Regions from separate parts of the Homo sapiens genome. Here region 2 is linked to region 1. Evidence: promoter capture Hi-C in 16 types of primary human blood cells and fetal thymus (Javierre and others, 2016). All regions are on one chromosome and are shown on one strand. The core of a region is centred on a gene start or on the middle of the fragment in contact, and the rest is flanking DNA. Distances in the headings are between cores, read along the strand shown. Region 1 holds the start of TXN (thioredoxin). Region 2 overlaps KIAA1958.

Region 1 (4,562 bases), core at 433-2,932:
TGAGTCACTGGACATTTGGAAGGTCTTTGGAGAGAAGTCAGCTGAGGATGGCCTGCATTGCCCCTTCCTGGAACTCAATGATTTGTTGTTATCACCCATGCAAATTCACCAACAAACAGATAAAAGTCAGGAAGCTGGGATGCAGCTGAACTGAAAACCCAGCAGCAGAAAAGCAGGTTATAGATTCTGCTCTGGGTGCTCCATACAGCTCCTTCCTCTCTGCCCCAATAACCTCCCTCTCTTTGGGAACATTGCTGCATTCAGGGCAGTCTGTCTTCCCTCCCTATGGGCTGTCTTTAGAATGTGTCCCTTGCCTATATCCATATTCATGCTCCGTGCTCCTCAGCCCCCTAGAAACTTTGCACAATAGATTCAAAACCTCTGGTTTCCTCCCTTCCTCTGTCTGAAAGAGTGAAAGAAGGAAGCCAGGGATTTCAGGGGGCAGCCAGGCAGCAGTATCACCACCCCTAGGCAATCACACCTAGTTGCAGCTTCATCGGGAACAGCTCAGCTCTGAAAACACAGACCTGGGACTCTCCCTCCCAGCCTTCTAGCTCTCGTTCCTGTGAGCAGCTTTTCAACCTCCACTTCCAGCCGCTGACAGGCCCTCCTGGCTCCACAAGGCCAGCTAACATACCCACCTTCCACAATCCCCAGCCCTGCCAGACATAACCTGCAACAGGCATTCCTGGATCAATGCAAACTCCGACTTCTGTTCCAGGAGTCTGCCTCTGTTAGAAGAATCTCACACAAGTGTGCGTGCTGTGCCATTGTAAATGCTGTATAAGGTGGCCAGGCCCAATCAGTCCCTGCAAGACACCGAACAGTAAGAACTATCTATGGAGTGTTTACTATGTGCCAAGCACCGTCCTTTGCAAGCACTATTAACCCTCAAAATACCACCACCGTGAGATTGAGACCATCATGATTCCCGTTCTACAGAAGGAAACACTGAGACTTCAGGAGGTCAGGACCTTTCCAGGGTCACAACTGCGTAACTAAGTTGCAGAGCTCAACCCAGTGGCACTTCCATCTCACACGCAGCTGTCTGATGGTCAAGAGCCCAACCAGTCCCCCGGTCGTTTCTACCGCACTAAACCGCTGTGTCAAGCTGGAGCAGCGGGCTCAGCAGTGAAAATGAAAGAACAGAAGGAGGTTACAGAGAAGAGAACGGTCACGGTAAATTCCGGAGAGGAGGCAAGGACGTACACACCGAGATACTTCCCGGTCACCGTTACTCAGCACTTTGTGGGGTTCACGTGGCTGGGGGGGCCGGGGCGTGGCGGCCCTTTTCGAGGAATCCAGCCCTGCCTGGGCGGTCCCCATCTCGAGCGTGGGCGTGTTCGATTCAGGCCCGGCGGACGCATCCCCAGGTGACCCGGGAGGGACCTTGTGTCTCTGGGGGTGACTGTCCGTCTCCCCGCCTCCCACCGTCACGCGCAGTGCTGATCCCCACTTCCAGCTGGAGTGCGAGCTGGGCTTGGGGTTACAGGAGCCGAAGCCCTGGAGCTCCGCCCCACGCTTGCGCCAGCCCCGCCCCGATCCCGGCTCGCAGGCTCCAGGGGCGGGGCGTGGCCGGGGCGCAGCGACGGGCGCGGAGGTCCGGCCGGGCGCGCGCGCCCCCGCCACACGCACGCCGGGCGTGCCAGTTTATAAAGGGAGAGAGCAAGCAGCGAGTCTTGAAGCTCTGTTTGGTGCTTTGGATCCATTTCCATCGGTCCTTACAGCCGCTCGTCAGACTCCAGCAGCCAAGATGGTGAAGCAGATCGAGAGCAAGGTACGCGCTACCGGGGAAGGCCAGGGTGCCGGCGCCGCGCGCGGCCTCTGTAACTGGGGAAGGCGGTGGCGGGAGGTGGGGAAGGCGGTGGCGGGAGGTGCGGAGGCCGCCCCTCCGCATCGCCAGGGGAAAGGGACGCGGCGTCTCGGCCTGGGACTGCGGGAAGCAGCGGCCTGGGCGCGCCCGAGGCGGTGGAGCCTGCCCTGGAGGAAGGGAGGAGAAGGACGAGGGTCCCCTGGAGGGCGGAGTGGCGGTGCCCAGCGTTTCTCGCACCCTGTTCCTCGGGGGATTGCACGCACGCGGGGAGCGTCCGGGGGATGTGAGAGCGCAGACAGCGTGAGGAGTCCCCACGCTGCGCCTCCTGCACCCTCCCGTCCGGGCAGCCCCGACTGGAGGAAGATGAGGGAATGGAAGGGGTCCGCCCTTGGCCCCCCATCTGTATCCAGATTCAGGCCCCAGGCAAGGATAGGGAGGGCCCTTGCAGAAGGCACGGGTCGGTGGCCGCCGCTGCCTTTCCGTATGTGAAGTGATCCACCCGCAGCGGGGGTAGTGATCTCCCTTTGGGAGCGGGTCTAGGCCGGAGACCCCCGCCTGCCTCCACCCATGCCCGACCCCAAAGGTGACGCGTGCTGTATCCGCACTAAGGGGGCGGATTGCGGCTGGAGACCCCCTGGCACGTGCAGGTCTGTCCAGGAGGCCCGAGGGCCCCAGGTGACCGCGAGGAAGTGAGGTCCGGGCCGCGCCCACGGGACTCCTGTGGCGCAGGGCGCGTTTCCGGCAGCAGTGGCTTTGGAATGACTGAGTCCCCAAGGTTGGGCCCGGGGGCCTCGGCTGCCCTGCCCGTCCATGATTCACCCTCAGTCGGTGGGTTTTGCTGGAGCCAGGGTTCCTCCTGGGAGCAGCCGCGCCCTGCTGCCTGCTCGCCGACCTATCGGTATCCCGATCGTTGTTTTGTCCTCTTAAAAATGCCCAAGGCGAAACAGCCTTCCCATGTTTGAAAGTTATTGCAAGCCTAAAACCTTGTAGACTGGGAAACCCAGAGCCTAACGCGCAGTGTCTAGTCCAATGTAGCCACTCCAGAAATATTTGTTAAATGCAGCGTCAGAAAAGTGAGTGGAGGAAATTGATACTGCTCGAACGGTAGAAGACCCCTCGCCAGCGCCTACCCTGCGATTACCCCTCCCTACCTGCGGGAAGCAGAGGAGGGCGGGTCCTCGCCCGCCTCGGGTGCCCTGACCTGTTTGGTGCCGGGTGGGCTTCGGAAACAGAAGTGTGTCTGCAATGTGTCCCCGATCCTTTTGTTCCTTTGATTATTATTGACTCTCAGTGTTTTTTCCTCATATGTTGATTGCCACTGTCATCTTTTATCTTCCTCTCAATCAGTTTTTTCTTAGTGGGATTCTCATTTTAGCAGCCCTCATGTGTTGAAAAGATCCTTAGTAGTGAATTGTCTTTCATATACTTTTTTTCCAAGCACCTATTGTGTGACAAATTATTAATCCATTCCTGGGGAAGGGAGTGGGGCTGGGATTCTGTTCTCCAGGGTCTGGCAACCTCAGTATAACCCAACTGCTAAGAACCCCCTCCACTGAGCCAGAAGACCTTTGAGTGGTCTATGTTAGTTGTCCCAAAATCCAGACACTACAAACAAAGTTGATTAGGATTTCTGGAGCACACAGTTTAGTCCTCCCAGTTGTCAGAGCATGTCAGAGCACCTTCCTCCTCTACCAGTGACAAAGGTGTACAAGGGTGACAGGAACTTTAAAAAAAGCACTACAGCCTGGGGCCCAAAGGCCCTGATAATCAATTAATCCTCAAAATAACAATCCAAAGTCATTGATCGAAAGTTACACTAATTTGATTGTTATTTGTCTGTTAGTTTGTTTTTCGAGATGGAGTTTTGCCCTTGTTGCCCTGGCTGGAGTACAGTGGCGCGATCTCGGCCCACTGCAACCTCCACCTCCTGAGTTCAAGCGATTCTCTTGCCTCAGCCTCCTGCACAGCTGGGATTACAGGCATGCGCTGCCAAAATGCCCAGTAATTTTGTATTTTTAGTAGAGATGGGGTTTCACCATGTTGGTCAGGTTTGTCTCGAACTCCTGACTTCAGGTGATCCACCAACCTCAGGCTCCCAAAGTGCTAGGATTACAGGCGTGAACCACCACGCCCAGCCTGTTATTTGTAAATGTTGAATACATGTTACATTTTCATCCTAATGGGCTAAATTTGCACCATTTGCCATTCAGAACAATTCTGTTTCTGAGGTACTCTGTTGGTGCTTTAGGGCCAACTGGGATCTATTTCAGAGAGGAATGGAATAATTGACTGTAAATGTGATGAGGAAGAAATAAACACTTTTAAAAAAAATGACACCTACCATTTATTGAACTCCCATCTACAAGGCACTTGGCTAAGTACTTCAGAAACCACTCACACTTATTACCCTCAGAGTAGGTATGTTGAGGCAACGAGATCTTAGACTCTTGCTCCTATTTACCCCAACTACACTGTTCTGCTTCCCCCAGATTATTGGTGTCAGTGATGGAGACATTTATTAATCCTGTTAGTTTCTGGGAGCTAGAAATTGTGATTTCTTCTTAGTAATACAATCTTGAATAATTTTCAAGCTGATACCCGTTTAGAAGTATCAGAAGAGAATTTGTACATGAAGCCTGCACATACGTGGGGTGTAACTCATGTTCAGTTAGGCTAAAAGTTATTGTTGCGTGCCTCTTTTCAGAATTTTAGGTACTTGTGCTTAAATTTGATTCAGAACTGTTTTGGA
Region 2 (4,472 bases), core at 380-2,879, 2.2 Mb before region 1:
CTAACAGAACAGAATGATTCTGCCTGTTTGAGGACTTTCTATACATGCAGGCATACAGTATAAACTCTGCTCTGTCTGGCTTCTTTAGCTCAACATATGTCTGTGAGATTCATACATACTACTGCATGCAGCTGTAGACTGTTTATCATTCTCATCGATCTACAGTATTCCATTGTGTAAATATACCATGATGTATTTATTCAATCTGAGTCAGTTTAATATTGCTGTATAACAAATCACCTAAAAATTTAGTGGCTTAAAACAACAATTTCTTATTTCTCACAATTCTATGTTTTCTGGGTAGTTCCTCCTCTGGCTTTACCTGGACTTGTTCACATGGCTACTTTTAGCTGGAAGGAAGGTCAGCTAAACTATAAGGTCAAAGATGGCCTCACTCAAGTTTGTCAGTAAGTACTGGTCATTGGCTGGGCACCACGATTCTCTTCCAAGTAACCTCTCCTACTCCAGGACGTCCTTATATAGTGGTCTCAGGGCATTATTCCCCAGAGTATGTAAGCGCTTATCAAGCTTCTGTTGCATAATGCTTGCTAATGTCCAACTAGCCAGAGCAAGTTACAAAGCCAAAGTCAGACTCACTGCGGAAGGGAACAACAATGACTGATGGCCATTTCAACAGATTTCAGTTTGGAGCAATGACAAATGTGCTATGAGCATTCTAGTCCATATATTTGGGTGAGTATGGATCTTACAGTAGAACTAATGAGTCACAGGATTTGCAGCATATGTCCAGTTTTAGTAGATATGGCCATACAGCTTTCCAAATTGCTGTACCACTTTACATTTCCATTCCAATTTACACTTTGAATAGCAGTGCAGGAGAATTTCAGCTATCCTACATCCTCATACTTGGTATTTTTCATCTTTCTCATTTAGCCATTCTAGTGAGTGTACAATGGTACCTCATTTTTATTTTAATTGAGTGGCCATATTTTTAAAATACTTCAGATAAGCAACAAAGGAGGAAATCTTCAAACTATAAAACCAGGAAAACTGTATTTATCAATTTCCATCTCCATCACAGAAACCTTCTCCAAAAGTACAGGTAAGTCCATCTAATTTAAATATGACCAAGAGAGAACAATTAAAAAGCACAGTAAGAAAAAAAGATGAGAACTGTAACATATTTCAAAAGGAATAAGAGGAATTAAGAAAATAGCCAGGCACAGTGCCTCATGCCTGTAATCTCAGCACTTTGGGAGACCAAGGCAGGAGGATCACAAGCCCAAGAATTCAAGACCAGCCTGGGCAACAAAGTGAAACCTGTCTTTAAAAAAAAAAAATTCAGCTGGTAGTGGTGGCACACATCCACAGTCCTAGCTACTTGGGAAGCTGAGGTGGGTGAATCCCTTGAGCCTTGAATGACAGAGAAAGGCCCTGTCTCAAAAAGAAAAAAAAATGAAAAAAGGGGAAAAAATTTTTAAATGATAGAAGCTATGGAAGAACAGCATACATCAGAAATTGAAAAACTAAAAAATGAATCTTGCCAGATAACAAGAGGATGTACAATAAGAAATGACAAAGTTCATGACAGAACAGGAAAGAAAAAACTCAGAAAGGAAGTGAAAACTAAAAAGAACACTAAACTTAATAGATAGGTACCACCAGATACGGTGGCTCACACCTGTAATCCCAGCACTTTGGGAGGCTGAGGCAGGTGGATCATTTGAGCCCATGAGTTTGAGACCAGCCTGGGTGACATGGTGAAACCCTGTCTCTACAAAAAACACAAAAATTAGTAGGGCATGGTGATGCACATCTGTAGTCCCAGCTACTTGGGGCTAAACTGGGAGGATCACCTGAGGCCAGAGACGTTGACACTGCTGTAAACCATGATGGTGCCACTGCATTCCAGCCTGGGTGACAGAGACTGTCAAAAAAAAAAAGCGATAGATACCATGAAAAATACATTGAACACACTAAAGCATAAAATAGAAAAAAACATAAAAATAGAGCAAATATAAAAAATAAGAAAAAATAATACTAAGGTATAGACATAAGAAGATCCAACATACATATAATAGGAGGCCCCAAAGAGAGAAAATGAAAACAATGGAACACATTACTAAAAAACTATAATTGATGAAAATATGAAAAAACACTTGAGCCAATGTAATAAAAAACACTGTGTATCTAGGAGAATTAACAGGGAATGGTCAACAGACATTCTAGTAAAATTATTGGCTTTAAATATGAAGAAAAAGCCCTTGGGTATCTAGGCAAAAAGATAAAATTAAAGAAAGAAAATCATATTGGTATTACAGTTTGACAACAACACATTTTACCAGAATAGAATATGACTCAGCAAACTAAGGCCTATGGACCAAATCCAGCCCACTGCCTGGTTCTGTAAATTAAGTTTTATTGGAACAGTCAGGCTAGTTCATTTACACACTATCTATAGCTGCTTTTGCAATGCAATGGCACAGTTAAGTAATTGTGAGGGAAACCAGTGATCCATAAAACCTAAGATAATTATTATTCAGTCTTTTACAGAAAAAGTTTGCCAACTCCTGCAAGAGAGTAACATTTTTAAAGATAGTTGAGGGGAAAAAAAATGTGAGTCAAGTATTTTTATTCAGTCAAAGTGACCTTGAACTATAAAAGCCACAGATAAACAGTGTTAAATATGAAAAGCAAGGGATACATTTCACATGAGCCACTACAAGAATTCAATGAACTTCAGACTACTAGATGATTACAGAAGCTTTACCGTAAGGACTTCTGTTGCACACTGAATATATTTAAATGAAAAACTAAGACTAATGCAAAGGTAACACAGTAGCATATGATTCACATATGGCAAACAGACAGAATTGAGAAATCTTGGGCAGCAAGAACTGACTGACCCAGGGGCTTGATTATGTATGGAAAATGGGATTAAGAATAAAGAAGGAATCAGAGATAACTCCTAAATTTCTGGACTGGGAAAATGGATGGAAGGTGGTACCAACTCACTGAGCTAAGGAATAAAAGAAAAGACACAGATGTGAAGAGGACAATAAGTCTGGGGCATGTTGAATGTGAAATGCTTGTGGAAAATTAAGTGAATATATCCAGTCGTAGTAGGACACAAAGATGTGGATTTCAGGAGAAAAGCCCCGACTAGATATTAGATTCAGGAATCATCAGACATGCGTGAAAAGAACAAATAGTGCATAACTTACCATGAGAGCAGCAAGACCAATAGCTGAAAAAAAAAAAGCACTAAAAGAAACAAGTCCTCAGAACTCAGAAGAAAATAACAGCATTAGCACTTCCACTGAATTTGGCCACAATAATATTCTCCAGTATTCCAAAACAACTATTAAGAATTTTGGCCAGGCACAGTGGCTCAGGCCTGTAATCCCAGCACTTTGGGAGGCCCAGATAGGAGGATATCATGAGCCCAGGAGTTCAAGACCAATCTGGGACACACAGGCCTCATCTCTACAAAAAAAAAAAAAAAAAAAAGTGAGCTGGGCTCTGGGTGTGCACCTGTGATCCCAGCTACTCAGAAGGCTGAGGTGAGAGGACTGCTTGAGCTCAGGAGGTCGAGGCTGCAGTGAGCTGTGATCACGTTAGTGCGCTCCATCCTGGGCAACAGAAAAAGATCCTGTCTCAAACAAACAAAAAAAGGATTTTGTACTTTAAGTCATTAAAAATAAAGCATTTAAAAACAATGAATATGAAGAGTGAAAAACAAAAAGCCTTTAGCTACTTTATTTTTAATGACTATATATAGAGTTGATCATATTGCTATGTATTGGGGCCTGGGATTCAAGTGAAAAATTGCCAACAAAATCCCACATGTGGAGTGAGGTATGTATGTACATATGTAGGTAGGTAGGTATACATGCATGAAAGGCAGTAGGTAGAGGGATGGACTGTGTTATAGGCTGAACTGTATTCCTCTCAAATTCATCTGTTCACATCCTAAACCCTGGTACCTCAGAATGTGACTTATAGGGGAAGTAAGGCCTGGAATAGAGGTAATTAAGGTAAAATGAAGTCATATGTGTGTGCCCTAATCCAATGTAAGTGATGTTCTTAAGAGGAAATTAGGACACACACATACACAGAGGGAAGACCAAGTGAAGCCACCTTAGGAAGACAGCCATCCATCAGCCAAGAGAGGGGCCTTAGAAGAACCTAACCCTGCCAACACTTTGAGCTTATACTTCTAGCCTCCAGAATTGTCAGAAAATAAATTTTTGTTGTTTAAGACAACCAATCTGTGATTCTTTGTTATGGCAGCCCTAACAAATTAATACAAGCTGAGAAGAGGAAGTAGTCCTAGCTGGTTAAGAATTCACACATATTGTCAACTCCGTCCCAGAAATATGAAGTCCTATAACAGAAAAAAGGATAGAGCTTTTGATATATGGTGATTATGCCTTAAATCATGCAAGGAAAATATTTTTAAAATAATAAGTATTTCCAGAGGAAAATATAAGAAAAAACTGAAGGGACAG

The links. Contacts are between HindIII fragments. The CHiCAGO score rates a contact against its expected background, and 5 or more counts as called.
Region 2: a fragment that was not itself captured here is called in contact with the fragment with the promoter of TXN in region 1 in 1 of 17 cell types (neutrophils); the score reaches 5.3 in neutrophils.

What each region holds. Positions count from the first base shown.
Region 1 is chr9:110,253,627-110,258,188 of GRCh38, reverse strand. It overlaps TXN (thioredoxin), which reads left to right and starts at 1,682. Exons shown (of 5, transcript NM_003329.4): 1 at 1,682-1,777. The coding sequence starts at 1,754. RefSeq lists enhancers at 1,001-1,050, 1,091-1,290, 219-1,418, 2,161-2,490 and silencers at 1,431-1,670, 1,841-2,090. The HindIII fragment of the contact is 7,662 bases long and covers 1-4,562 here.
Region 2 is chr9:112,491,916-112,496,387 of GRCh38, reverse strand. The region is part of intron 1 of KIAA1958; the gene reads right to left. Among named protein-coding and RNA genes, the nearest start is that of HSDL2-AS1, 6.5 kb to the right of the region's middle. The HindIII fragment of the contact is 2,197 bases long and covers 531-2,727 here.